2 separate regions of the Homo sapiens genome follow, and region 1 is linked to region 2. Evidence: promoter capture Hi-C in human tissues and cell types (Jung and others, 2019). All regions are on one chromosome and are shown on one strand. Each heading gives the region's core, a stretch centred on a gene start or on the middle of the fragment in contact. The rest is flanking DNA. Distances are from core to core; before and after follow the strand shown.

What was found. Contacts are between HindIII fragments. The study calls those that stand out against the background at their distance.
Region 1: a fragment that was not itself captured here is called in contact with the fragment with the promoter of DBNDD1 in region 2 in 1 of the 25 tissues and cell types used here (pancreas).

What each region holds. Positions count from the first base shown.
Region 1 is chr16:90,068,476-90,075,988 of GRCh38, reverse strand. PRDM7 (PR/SET domain 7) reads left to right here. Exons shown (of 11, transcript NM_001098173.2): 2 at 1-147; 3 at 515-638; 4 at 966-1,073. The coding sequence starts at 79. Among named protein-coding and RNA genes, the nearest start is that of PRDM7, 5.1 kb to the left of the region's middle. The HindIII fragment of the contact is 7,666 bases long and covers 1-5,842 here.
Region 2 is chr16:90,015,554-90,022,645 of GRCh38, reverse strand. It overlaps DBNDD1 (dysbindin domain containing 1), which reads left to right and starts at 3,190. Exons shown (of 4, transcript NM_001042610.3): 1 at 3,190-3,335. The coding sequence starts at 3,305. It also overlaps a transcript of DRC4 not described here. RefSeq lists silencers at 1,891-2,185, 2,932-3,071. The HindIII fragment of the contact is 9,907 bases long and covers 1-7,092 here.

The sequences.
Region 1 (7,513 bases), core at 760-3,259, 55 kb before region 2:
TGGCCTAGGAGCTGGGAGACTCAGGGGCCCTTCCCACACTCAGAATTGGAGCAGGGCCTTCTAGACAGTCCCAGCACCATGAGCCCTGAAAGGTCCCAAGAGGAGAGCCCAGAAGGAGACACAGAGAGAACAGAGCGGAAGCCCATGGTGAGAAGTCGGGGAGGCGAAGCCAGACTCCCAGCAGGAGCTGATCTCTGGAGTGCTGCAGACTCCTGGCCTGTACCCTTGGGTGACTCTGTCTGAATGTGCATGGAATGGGGGCAGCTGGTCCTGGCCAGGACATGGGGGAGAAAAGAACACTAGCATCAGCGACTGCTCTGTGTCAGCAGAGAGCTAGGAAAATGCTCAGTGTCTGCTCAGTTAAACAGGACACAATCTGGAGAAGGAGGGAAGGTCTTTATGTTTCACAGAGACTCCCAGAGGCCCCAGGCTATGCCCTACACGCAGGGTAGAGGAAAAGGACCAGCTCGATGTGTATTAGTAAATCACTGATGGAATCTGTTACTTCCTCTAGGTCAAAGATGCCTTCAAAGACATTTCCATATACTTCACCAAGGAAGAATGGGCAGAAATGGGAGACTGGGAGAAAACTCGCTATAGGAATGTGAAAATGAACTATAATGCACTGATTACTGTAGGTAACAGGAAGTGCTGGGCACAGACCAGCCTGGGCGATATAAAACAGGTCTTTGGTCCCTATATTATTTTAATTATCAGGTGGCGGCATCTGCCCACAATTCCCTTTTGCACGGAGACAAATCTGGAGGGAAATATTGTTCTTTTGCGTCAGTGCAGGGTTGTGTGTGGATACTGACCATGCAGAGGTCACATCTTGACCTTGTTCAAGACTCTCCCAGCTCATCAGACTGAGCAGCACTGGCTTTGTGGTGCTTTCCATTGCCACTGCCCTTTGTTCCTCATCCCAGCTCTTCCGTTTCAGAGCAAAATTTTTTGCTTCTTTTCAGGTCTCAGAGCCACTCGACCAGCTTTCATGTGTCACCGAAGGCAGGCCATCAAACTCCAGGTGGATGACACAGAAGATTCCGATGAAGAATGGACACCTAGGCAGCAAGGTAAGAGGGAAGGGAAGGAGGATTTTTTTTTTTTTAAAGACGGAGTTTCGCTCTTGTTGCCCAGGCTGGAGTGCAATGGCGTGATCTTGGCTCACGGCAACCTCTGCCTCCCAGGTTCAAGCGATTCTCCTGCCTCAGCCTCCCAAATAACTGGGATTACAGGCATGCGCCACCACACTCAGCTAATTTTTTGTAATTTTGTTTAGTAGATATGGGATTTCTCCATGTTGGTCAGGCTGGTCTCGAACTCCTGACCTCAGGTGATCTACCCACCTTGGCCTTCCAAAGTGCTGGGATTACAGCCATGAGCCACCACACCTGGCCTATTTTTATTTTTTTTAAGACAGAGTCTTGCTCTGTCATCCAGGCTGGAGTACAGTGGTAGAATCTCGGCTCACTGCAGCCTCCACCTCCCAGGTTCAACAATTCTCCCACCTCAGCTTCTCGAGTAGCTGGGACTGCAGATGTGCACCACTTTGCCCAGCTAATTTTTGTATTTTTTGTAGAGATGGGGTTTCACCATGTTGGCCAGGCTGGTCTCGAATTCCTGGCCTCAAGTGATCCGCCTGCCTTGGCCTCCCAAAATGCTGGGATGATGATGATGATGATGATGATGATGATGATGATGATGACGATGATGATTGTTACTATTATTACAGACAAGGTCTCACTCTGTCACCCAGGCTGGAGTGCAGTGGCACAATCATAACTCACTGCAGCCTGAAACTCCTGGGCTCAAGTGTTCCTCCCACCTCAGCTTCCCAAAGTGCTGGGATTACAGGCATGAGCCACCGTGCATAGCCCCCAGTAAGATTTAGAAGTGACCTCCTGGCCAGGCATGGTGGCTCACACCTGTAATCCCAGCACTTTGGGAGGCTGAGGCAACCATATCACTTGAAGTCTGGAGTTTGAGACAAGCCTAGCCAACATGGTGAAACCCCATCTCTATTAAAAATGCCAAAAAAGATAGCTGGGCATGGTGATGGGTGCTTATAATCCCAGCTACTCAAGAGGCTGAAGCTGGGAAATAGCTTGAACCCAGGAGGTGGAGGTGGCAGTGAGCCGAAATCGTGCCACCACCCTCCAGCCTGGGCAACAGAATGAGAAGACTCCGTCTCGGGGGGAAAAAAAAGTGACCTCCTGAAACCGGCCTCGGTTTAGGTCTCAGCTACATTTCAGAATTTAACAAAGGAAAAAGAGTCTTCCCTCAAAAACATAAATGTTCAACAAACAAGCACAATGTAATCCCAGCACTTTGGGAGGCCGAGGCAGGCGAATCATGAGGTCAGGAGATCAAGACCATCCTGGCTAACACGGTGAAACCCCATCTCTACTAAAAATACAAAAAATTAGCCAGGCACGGTGGCGGGCACCTGTAGTCCCAGCTACTCAGGAGGCTGAGGCAGGAGAATGGCATGAACCCGGGAGGCGGAGCTTGCAGTGAGCTGAGATAGCACCACTGCACTCCGGCCTGGGCGACAGAGCGAGACTCCATCTCAAAAAAAAAAAAAAATTGTCATTCTTTTTTTAAAAAAAAGAAAACATTGTTTTTGCTAAACAATGTTAATAAATCACAGAACAAGTAAAGAAAACAATTAAACTGCAAATCCACAAAAAAGCTTTCTAACACCAATCTCATAATAGTTATTGAGTTAAATGTCTTAGAAGAAATAATATTAAGTAAAGATACATCATTTATGTACATTTCATCATACTATATGATCCTCTTATACCAAAATGTATCTACTTCTTTGTCTCGATTCTGGAGCGGGTTTGAGAGAGCTGTTTAGTTGCCCTGATCTTTCCCATATGTCACTGACCAGAGACAGCATCAAGTAGATAAAATAATGTACCATAATTATAAAATAGAAGTGCAAAGCTCATTTCCTCTTCTACTGCTTGGTTAGGAGAGTTTAGAAGTAAAAACAGTCAATCTGCCCAAACTGGAGAAAGCAACTTGGATTGGGTCTACGATTTCCCCATCTGTGGATTTGAGATTCCTTAAGACCTTAATGTAATGTAAGAGGAATGAAAGGCCAGCGTTTGCTTTTCTGCAAATGTTTTGACATGAAAAGAATGTCTCTTTAGAGGGAATCTATCTCCCGTGGTTTACCACACATCTATACATCTTTATCTGAACTCAGTTAAAATCCCCAATTTAAGTCAATTTATTTTTTATTGTGGAAATCAAACAACATATATTTACTCTTCTAACAATTTTTAAGCGTACAACTTTATTAACTGTATGCACACTGTTGTGCAATAGATCCCTAGAACTCTTTATCTTGCATGACTAAAACCCTAACCCATTGAACAATAACACTCCATTTCTTCCTCCCTCCAGCTCCTGGCAACTGCAATTCTGTTTCTATGAATTTGGTTACTTTAGATACCTCATATACGTGGAATCAGCCATGAAACATTTGTCTTTTTGTGACTGGCTGATTTAATCACTTAGCAGAATGTTCCCAAGATTCACCCATGTCACAGCATGTGACAAGATTTTCTTCTTTTTTAAGGCTGAATAATATTCTACTGCATGTATATACCACATTTTGAAAATCCATTCATTTGTCAATGGATGTTAGGTTGCTTCGCCTCTTGTCTATTGTGAATAATGCTGTAATAACTATCAGTGTGCAAATATCTCTTTGAGATCGTTTTTAATTCTTTTTTTTTTTTTTTGAGATGGAGTCTCGCTCTGTCGCCCAGGCTGGAGTGCAGTGGCGCAATCTCGGCTCACTGCAAGCTCTGACTCCCGGGTTCACGCCATTCTCCCGCCTCAGCATCCCAAGTAGCTGGGACTACAAGCGCCTGCCACCACGCCAGGCTAATTTTTTTGTATTTTTAGTAGAGACGGGGTTTCACCATGTTAGCCAGGATGGTCTCGATCTCCTGACCTCATGATCCGCCTGCCTCATGGGCTCGATCTCCTGACCTCATGATCCGCCTGCCGCGGCCTCCCGAAGTGCTGGGATTACAGGCATGAGCCACCGCGCCCAGCCTTTAATTCTTTTTAATATATTATATACCCAGAAGTGGAATTTCTGGATCAGAAGGTAGTTCTGGTTTTAATTTTTTGTGGAAGCGCCATACTGTTTTTTTACAGTGTCTGCACCATTTTACATTCCCACTACTATGGTTTGAATGTGTGGAAGTTCATGTATTGGAAACTTAATTGCCATTGTAACAGTATTAAGAGGTGGAGCCTTTAAGAGGTGATTTGGTAATGATAGCTCCAACCTCATGAATGGATTAATGCCATTATCACAGGAGTGGGTTAGTTATTGCAGGAGTGGGTTCCGATGAAAAGGATGAGTTGGGCCCTTCCCTGTCTTTCTCTCTGTCTCACATGCACACTTACCCTTCTACCATGTCATGATGCAGCTTGAAGACCCTTGCAAGATGCCAGTGCCATGCTCTTCAACTTCCCAGCCTCCAGAACCACAAGCCAAATAATTATTTTCTTTATAAATTACCCACTCTGGGCCAGGCACAGTGGCTCACGCCTGTAATCCCAGCACTTTGGTAGGCCAAGGCAGGCAGATCACAAGGTCAGGAGTTCGAGACCAGCCTCGCCAGCTTGGCAAAACCCCATCTCTACTAAAAATACAAAATTAGCCAGGCATGGTGGCATGCACCTGTATTACCAGCTACTTGGGAGGTTGAGGTAGAAGAATCACTTGAACCCGGGAGACAGAGGTTGCAGTGAGCCGAGATCACACCACTGCACTCCAGCCTGGGCAACAGAACGAGACTCCATCTCAAAAAAACAAACAAACACATAAATTTCCCACTCTCTTGCATTCTAGGAAAGCAGCAGAAAACAGACTAAGCTACCCACCAACAATAAGCAAGTGTTCTAATTTCTCCACATCTTCGCCAACATTGCTATTTTCTGGTTTTTTGACAGAGGCTATCATAACAGGATAAGGTGATATCTCATTGTGGTTTTAATTTTCATTTCCCTAATGATTAGTGATGTTAAGCATATTTTCATATGCTTCTTGGCCATTTATGTATCTTCTTTTGAGAAATGTCTATTCAAGCTTTTTGCCCATTGTATTAGTCAGCCCAGGCTGCCACAAGAAAATACCACACATTGAGTGGCTTAAACAACAGAAATTTGTTTTCTGACATTTCTGAAGCCTGGTAGTAAAAAATCAGAGTGCCAGCATGGTTGGGTTCCAGTGAGGGCTCTCTTCCTGACTTGTAGTCAGCCTCCAGCTCACTGTGTATTTACATGAATTATTTGTGTGCCAACAGCAGGAAGGAGAAGAAATTTCTCTCTTCCTCTTATAAAAGCAATAATACCTACTAGAAGATTTTTTTTTAGACAGCCTCATTCTGTTGCCACAGGCTGGAGTTCAGTGGTGCAATCTCGGCTCACTGCAAACTCCACCTCCCGGGTTCAAGCAATTCTCCTGCCTCAGCCCCCCACATAGCTGGGACTACAGGGGCACATCAGCTAATTTTTGTATTTTCAGTGGAGATGGGGTTTTACCATGCTGACCAGGCTGGTCTCAAACTCCTGGCCTCAAGTGATCTGCCCACCTCAGCCTCCCAAAGTGCTGGGATTACAGGCATGAGACACCGCACCCAACCAAAAGCACTAATGTCATCCTAAGGGTCCCACCCTCATGACATCACCTAGCCCTAATTACCTACCAGTGGCTCCATCTTTAAATACCATCATATTGAGGTATTAAATGTGCTTCAGCATATGAATTTGGGGGAAACAAAATTCAGCCCATAGCACCCATTATTTAATTATTTGTTTTGTTGTTGTATTATAGGAGTTCTTCATATATTCTGGATATTAACTCTTTCTTCGTTTTTTTGTTTTTTGTTTTTTTTTTTCAGACAGAGTTTCGCTCTTGTCACCCCGGCTGGAGTGCAATGGCGTGATCTCAGCTCACTACCACCTCCCCATCCCAGGTTCCAGCGATTATTCTGCCTCAGCCTCCCGAGTAGCTGGGATTACAGGCACACACCACCACACCCAGCTAATCTTCTGTATTTTCAGTAGAGACAGGGTTTCACCATGTTGGCCAGGCTGGTCATGAACTCCTGACCTCAAGTGATCCATCTGCCTCGGCCTCCCAAAGTGCTGGGATTACACCCATGAGCCACAGTGCCTGGCCTGGATATTAACTCTTTATCTTCTTTTTTTTGAGACAGAGGTCTCACTATGTTGCCCTGGCTGGTCTCGAACTCCTGGGTTCAAGTGATCCTCCCACCTCAGCCTCTGAATAGCTGAACTATAGTCATGTGCCACTGCACTCAGCAACATTAACCCTTTATCAGATACATGGTTTGCATATATTTTCTTCCACTCTGTAGGATGCCTTGACACTGTGTTGATTGTTTTCTTTGCTACACAGAAGTTTTTAAGTTTGATGTAGTCCTACTTGTCTATTTTTGCTTTTATTGCTTATGCTTTTGGTGTCATATACAAGAAGTTATTGTTCATTTCAATGTCATGAAGCTTTTCCTCTGTGTTTTCTTCTTGAAGTTCTGTACTTATAGACCTTACATTTCAGTCTTTAATCTATTTTGAGTTAATTTTTATATGAGATATGTGGTAAGAGTCTGTCTTCTCTTTTGCATATGTATATCCAGTTTTCCCAACACAATTTCTTGCAGACTGTCCTTTCCTCCATTGTGTAGTCTTGGCATCATTGCTGAAGATCATTTGACCATATACACGAGGGTTTATTTCTGGCCTCTCTATTCTGTTCCATTGGTCTATAGGTCTGTCTTTATACCAGTACCATACTTTTCTGATTACTGTAGCTTTGTAATATGCTTTGAAATCAGGAAGTGTGAGGCCTTCAACTTTATCCTTCTTTTTCAAGATTGTTTCGGCTATTCTGGGTCCTTAGAGATTCTATATGATTTTTTGGATATTTTTCCATTTCTGAAAATAATAGCATTGGCATTTTGATAGACAGGACATTGAATCTATAAATCATTTTGATAGTATGAACATGTTAACAATATTAAGTCTTCAAATCCACGAACACAGGATGTCTTCCATCTATTTGTGTCTCCTTAAATTTCTGTCGGCACTGTTTTGTAGTTTTCAGTGTTCAAGTTTTTGCCTCCTTGGTTAAGTTTATTCCTAATTATTCTATTCTTTTTGATGCTATTGTGATTGGGATTTTTTTCTTAATTTCCTTTTTGGATTGCTCATTTTTACTAAATAGAAACACAACTGATTTGGGGTGTTGCTTTTGTATGCTGAATTCATGTATTACTTCTTTTTTTTTTTTTTTTTTGAGACGGAGTCTCGCTCTGTCATCCAGGCTGGAGTGCAGTGGCATGATATCGGCTCACTACAAGCTCCACTTCCAAGGTTCATGCCATTCTCCTGCCTCGGCCTCCTGAGTAGCTGGGACTACAGGCGCCCGTCACCACACCCAGCTAATTTTTTGTAT
Region 2 (7,092 bases), core at 1,941-4,440:
CCGCTGGGCGATGCCGCGATAAGTCACAAGATCCTCGCGAGACTCCGCCGGGCAGCGGCCCTGCCAAAGGCGGGAGTGCGTCCCTAGAGACGGGCGTCCGGAAGGAACCCGGTTGTGAACGTTGGGAAAATGTCGCCGGCAGCCCAGAAGCCTTTCGCTGCAGGGCATGTTTTGCTTATTGCTGGAACCTAAGCTCCACGAGGGGGGAACCCTTCACTTCTATCCTTCAGCGCCTAGAACAGCACACAGCACGTGCTCAGTAAAGACGTGCTGATGAAGGACCATTGAAGGAATGATCAATCAGCCACCCAAGCCTCTGAAACTTTCCCCAAATGAGATTCAAATCTGGGCAAACACTCTATCCCCTGGGCCTCACTCACCCCACCCGCCCACCTTTGAAGGGCCCTCCCAGCTGCTGCGCTGGTGGGTTTACACACACCTCAAAAACGCAGAAATCGGAAAGAAAAATACGTTCCAGTTTAGTTCCAAATGTTTGAAATCAGTAAGTATTCCTTTCACAAAAATAAACTGCTCTTCCTGAAGAGGCCTCCTCCCCACTCCTCACGGATGAAAAGAAACCAGAGGCTTCCCGACAGGCCCTGCAGAAAACAAACAGCTGCCACTTTCCTTTTCTAACTAATCTCTTGTTCTGAAAACTGCTAGCCATTTTACAATTTCTAAAATGAATCTGCCATCCGTGAAACCACCCTGTTACCTACATACAACCATCTATGTCACCCAGAAAGCTGAGTTTGTCATAAACAGGTGCTTTTTTTTTTTTTTTTTTTTGGAGACAGGGTCTCCTTCTGTCGCCTAGGCTGTGATCACAACTCACTGCAGCCTCGACCTCCTGGGCTCAAGCAATCCTCCCACCTCAGCCTCCTGAGAAGCCAGGACTACAGGTGTGAGACACCATACCCAGCTTTTTTTTTTAAGTTTTTAATAGAGACGGGGTCTTGCTTTATTGCCCAGAGTGGTCTCAAACTCCTGGCCTCAAGTGATCCTCCTGCCTCGGCCTCCCAAAGTGCTGGGAGCACGTGAGCCCCACGCCCAGCCCTAAGCTCTCATCTTTAACATCTTCTTAAAAAGTGGTCATCTACTTGGGAGGTTGAGGTGGGAGAATCGTTTGAGCCCTGGAGGTGGAGGTTGCAGTGAGCCAAGATCACACCACTTCACTCCAGCCTAGGTAACAGAATGAGACCTGAGACCCTGTCTCAAAAAAAAAAAGAAAAGGTCTTGTAGCAGATCTTGTTCTCCCATGTGTCTGGGGATGAAGAGTACAGAATCCATGCTCGTAGAAAGTTGTGCTGGGGGCAAAGTGTGAGAAATGAAAGAAGGCCTGGTGGACCTAGGTCTTCCTGTCCAGCTGGGGGAGGAAGTTGCCACATGAGCTGGGTTTGCTCAGGCCTCAGGCACCCACACAGTGGTGGGAATCTGAGAACCACTGTGATGAGAGACTTCCTGTTTGCCCACCTAAGTCCTGATTGTTCTTGGAGAGGAGCAGCCAGTTGGAAGAACTGCATTGGCTCAGCTTGCACAAAGCAGTGATTTATTTATAGTAAGCCCTGAGGCCTCTGTGAAGTCTGGCTGGTCACTGTGCCTGGGCAACCAGGAGCCAGCATCACTGTGCCAGACTCCCTTGGCCTGAGAGGGGCCTCCTCCCCCTGGGACAGGGTGGTCAGACAGTGACGCTGGAGAGCACAGTGGGGGTAATTATTATAATTTAACACTTACTTCACAAAACCAATATGCTAGCAGCTTCATGCTGATTGGCTTTTTGCTTCAGAAGTCTGGATGAGTGTCCTGAATTAAATAGCTGTATTAACAATAATTCCTTTCAGCAAAAAGGGCAAGAATAGGAGGGTTAGCTCAGGATAGCCTAGACAGGGTACTCATTTTTCACAAGCTAAGAGCAATCCTGGTCTGTCGGTGTGGGCTGCAGAGATGAATCATTCAGGGAGCCCTGAATTGCGGCTCCCTGGGATCCCGACAGGGCCCACTGCGACCTGTTCTTTTCATATTGAATTCGAGTTCAGATTTTTAGAAAAGAGCCTTTTCTTCACATATGTGGCTTAAGATACTTTCATTCAGTGTCAAGCTGTGCAGCTCAGAAACCCAGATAAATGGCATCTGAGTTTCCTGCAAAATCCCAGAGCAAATGTTAATACAAACAAACCGACTGCCCTCTGTCTGATGTCTGATGCTTCCTGCCACCCACTATCCACCAGGTAAACCGCCTCAGGCCACGGCATCAACTCAGTGAAGGCCTGGATGCTGGGTTAACAAGAGTGTTTATGAAGACTAGACTTTTTCTTTTCTTTTCTTTTCTTTTTTTTTTTTGAGACATACAATCATAGCTCACGGCAGCCTTGGACTCCTGAGCTCAAGCTGTGCTCCCACCTCAGCCTCCCAAAGGGCTGGGATTACAGGCATGAGTCAATGCTCCTGCAAACGGACTTTCTTTGAGAGATAAATATTGAAGTACTTACAAATGCAATGATCTAATGTGTATATAATTTGCTTCAAAATGACCCAGCAGTGGAGGGAAGTGAATGAGGACAGAGAAGCAGTGGCCCAGGCCAGGAGCTGGCAATCGCTGAATCTGGGCGATAGGGACATGGGGGTCAGTTTCATCGAAACTGCCTTGGCGCTCTCTGCAGCCCGGGCCCGCCGCCCTCTCCTTACCTCCCATCCCCCATCCCGCCCCTTCCAGCCTCCCAAGCACACGCCCTCGCCCCCACCCGCCCCCCGCGTTAATTCGCGCCATCCAGGGCGCTCTGTGAGTCTGTCATTACCCAGCGCGAGTCAGGCCCCTCCTGTGCCCCTCGCCAGCCCCGAGGGGCGCCCGCACACAGTCGGCGCCCCACACGCAAGTACCTGGAAGAGAACAAGAGGACGCCAGCGGGCGCGGCCGCCAAGTGAGTGCGCAGGAGCCCCGGACGCCCGGCCGGGGTCGGGAGGGCGCAGCCAGGTCCCGGTGGTGTCCGCGGCGGGGCGCGGCCCGCGAGGGAAGGGTCGGCGGGGGAGGGGTCCGCTGGGCCAGGGGCCAGCAGGGGGCGCGCGCGGGCCGGGGCGGGGCCGCACCTGTCCTGCGGCTGGGGGGGCGCCGGGAGGGGGCCGGGGCCCGGGAGCAGCTGCGCGCCCCGCCCCGCCCCGCGGGCTCCTCCCTGCCGCCGCGGCCCCCCGGTTGCTGCCCCGATGCGCTGCGCCCGGAGCCGGGGCCGAGTCGCTGCCGCAGCTGTTGGGGCGCCCGGGCCAGGCGACGCCGCCGTCGCCCGTGCCCCTCCCAGACCGCACCGGCCGCATGGAGCCCCCGGAGGGCGCCGGCACCGGAGGTGAGTTCAGCCCCAGCCCCCGAGACCCCCGCGCAGCGCTTCCCCGCAGCGAGCCGCAGCCCCTCCCCCCAGGGCTCACCCTTCGCCGCTCCCGGGAGTCGCGAAGACCCCTTTGGCAGCTCGGGGTCGTCCGGCGGGCCAGGGGCACCTCCCGGGCGCGGTCCCCGCGCGGGGCTGGGGGCACACGGACCGAGTCTCCGCCCCCTTGTTCTCTGCGCTCCCGGCCCGGGAAGCCGTGCCCGGCACGCTCCTTGGTGGGTGGCCCGGAGTTTCGTCCTGAGCCCCCTCCCAGCCAAGCCAGCCGGTGACCCGGGGAGCGGGGGAGGGGGGTTCCGGGGCTGGAGTTTGGGGTCCCTGTCGGTGGGGCGTGAGGGCGACGCTGGCCGCTTGCAAGCGCGTCCGCTTTGTTCGCCCAGCCGCGAGTCCCGGGGGGCGAGGGCCGTAGACTCGCGGGCAGGGATCCTGCCAGGGGCGAGGGGCTGAGATGGGTCTTGGGGATGTGGGGCATGCACGGGCGCGGCCTGCCGGGGACTCCAGAGCTGCAAGGGTGGCTGGTCCGGGAGTGGCCCAGGCGCACGCTCATCGGGGAGGGTAGGTGCGCGTGGAGCGCTCCCTGCCCTGATGGTGGAGGCCCTACTGCAGGACCTTGGAGTCGGTAACGGGAAGAAAGCTCTCAGAACCTCCCCCCTTCCCGATCAGAGACTTTTCCAAAAGGGCTTTCGGGGTTCCATTTGCCTAGGTAGGAACTTGGATGCAAACTGCAGACTCCTCCACCTGCCCAGCCAAGCCCACCACCTCCTGGTTTCCTAGAGCTCCCATTCCAGGGAGCCAGCAGGTGCCTGAGGGCACAGGCAGGCCAGCCTGCCGCTCTGGAACTACATGGGAACCTCTCAGTCCCCCAGCCGCACACAGTGGCATCCTCTGGAGCCCGAAGGGCTGTCCCCGGGAGGAGCAGGTCCACCCACCCTGTGTATCTGCAGTCCAAGGTATAGGGACAAATGCCCCAGGGCTGGTGGGTTTGGGTTTTGATTTGTCATTTGTGGGAGGGACCAGAGCTCTTTCTTAACACTGATAGTCCCAGGCTCCTGGGTATTCCCAGTAGCAGCTTTGTGGACATAGGAAGCCTGGAGGTTGGGAGTGAGGGCTTGGGGGTCTCCGAGCTGTTTCCAGCTGTGAACTGTGGGCAGTCAGGCCCCTGTGAGCCTCAATTTCCATTTCTGTCAGTGGAGACAGTTCTGCTTCCCCTGCAGGGCTGTGGGAGCCCAAGGCATTTGGGAGTGGAGGTTAATATGTTTTCCCTCCTCCTTTGGGAAAAAAGGAGGACTTCCCAGCAGCTTAAAAGGCAGAGAAAGCAGGTTCAGTTTCTGAGCCCATCAGTCACTGGCTGGGGGCTTCAGACACCTGACTCAATCAGTGCACAGGTATTTACCTACAGGTCGCAGCTCTGTGCAGTACCCTGCCTGGGGTGGGGAGTTAGTGGGAAGACAGGGCCCTGTCCTCTGAGGGCTCACGCTCTTGACACCAACTCCTGTTTCCTTGTCTGCAAAGTGGCCAGTGATGCCTACTTTGTGGAACCTCATGAGATCACACATTGGTGACTCTGTCATTACTTATCACTTACTTTTGAAAACCTTACAAAAGTAGAGAGAACGGCGGGACAAAGGCCCATGTGTGACATCCCAGCCCCCAGGCCCACAGCCTCCTCTCCAGACTACCACCAACCTCCCTTCATTAGTGGTTTGAACCAAATCTAGACATATTATTTCACTGATAAATAATTCAGAAATATCTGTAAAATATGATTTTTTTTTTTTTTGAGACGGAGTCTCGCTCTGTTGCCCAGGCCGGAGTGCAGTGGCGCGATCTCGGCTCACTGCAACCTCCACCTCCCGGGTTCACGCCATTCTCCTGCCTCAGCCTCCCCAGTGGCTGGGACTACAGGCGCCCGCCACCACACCTGGCTGATTTTTTGTACTTTTAGTAGAGACGGGGTTTCACTGTGTTAGCCAGGATGATCTCGATCTCCTGACCTCATGACCCACCCGCCTCGGCCTCCCAAAGTGCTGGGATTACAGGCGTCAGCCACCATGCCCGGCAAAATAGGATTTTTATAAAGCATTATTAAAACACTATTTTTGCAACTAAAGGAATTAATGATTTCTTAATATGAAATGTACAGAACACGGAGGTGCACGTGTGCACAGGAATGTGACCTGTGCCCTCTCTGAGGGCCCCACCTGGAAGCCAGGGCTGTAACCCACCCCAACTCAGTCTGCCCAAGGGTCCACAGGGACAGAGGGATCCTCAGGAGGCTGAGAGTCTAGACACGGCCACTCCAGCATCCCTGAAATACTTTGGGGGTCCAAATCCAGAGAGGAAGGTGCTGGGGGATGGGGGGCAGGTGGCCCCTGCCTCTGCGACCATCTCTCCTTCCAGCCATTTAGTTTTATGATATTCATTCATTCACTTCATTAGCTCATCCGTCCATACAGTGGTGTGTGCCAAGTGCCTCCTCGATGCTCTGGACGGGGCCCTGGGCACACAACAGGGAACAGGATTTGGGCCAAGTTTCCCAGTCGAGAATGTGCTGGAAAATAGGTCAGCAGCAGAGCACAGGGCATCAGCAATCAGCCCTCAGGGAAGCCTGGGGGGCCGGGCTGAGGCACCCCAACTCCTGGCTCCCTCGCTGAGGTGCTCCTTCAGTGCCCACTCATCAGCGAGGGCACCAGCAGCCCCTGCAGGGGGGTTGGGTCCCCCTTGATAGGGGCTGTGCTGGGGTAAGGACCAGAACATTGCTGTGTCCCCACACTCTGGGGTCCTTCCTGGGACATCAGAAACACCTGCTTGCCTCTGCCCTGGCCCTGGAGACCTTGGGGGCTGCCAGCACCCGCCCCCATGCCTGCCTGGCATTGAGCCTCTGGTTCCCACCCTGGGAAAAGCAGCAGGTCTCGCCCGTGAGGAATTTTCTTCTTCCTACAAGCTTGTTGAGAGGGTGTCAGACAGGCCTGGGTGATTCCTAGCGCAGTCCCTCACTAACCGTGGGCTAGTTGATTCACCCTCATTTGTTTACTGCGCACCTACTGTGCGCTAGGTCCCAGGAATGCAGCCATGAACTAGATACAAGCCGCTTAGAGCTGATGCTTCTCGCTCTACCCAGTCCCAGCCTGCTCTGGGGCTGTGCCTGGGGGTCTGGCGTGTGGCCGACTCACAGTGTATGTGAGTCTCTGTCATTTCCTCCCGGCTTTGCCTATCAGTTCCAGCCAAGATCAACCTTTGTTTCCATTGAGGATTGTTTTTAAATTGAGATATTATTCACATATAAAGTTCACCCTTTTAAAGTGTACAACTCACTGTTTCAGTATATTCACAAAATTGTGCAGTCACCACCACTATCTAATTTTATAATATCTTCATTACCCCCCCAGAAAGAAACCCATACCCGTTCTCCCCTTCTCCACTGCCCACCCCCCAGCCTCTGACGATCACTGATGGAATGTCTACGCGCTTGCCTATTCTGGACATTTCCTAGGAACGGCGTCACACAGCATTTGTCCTTTTGGGCCTGGCTTCCTTCACTCGAATGAGGTGATCAGGCTCATGCATGTGATATCCGGTGTCAGTACCGCCGTCCTTCTTGGGTTGAATCTCACTCCATGGTAGGCACAGACCACATTCTGTTTATCCATTGATCCACTGAGGACATTGGATTATTTCCACTTTTGGCTACTGTGAATCACGCTATGAACATGCATGTGCA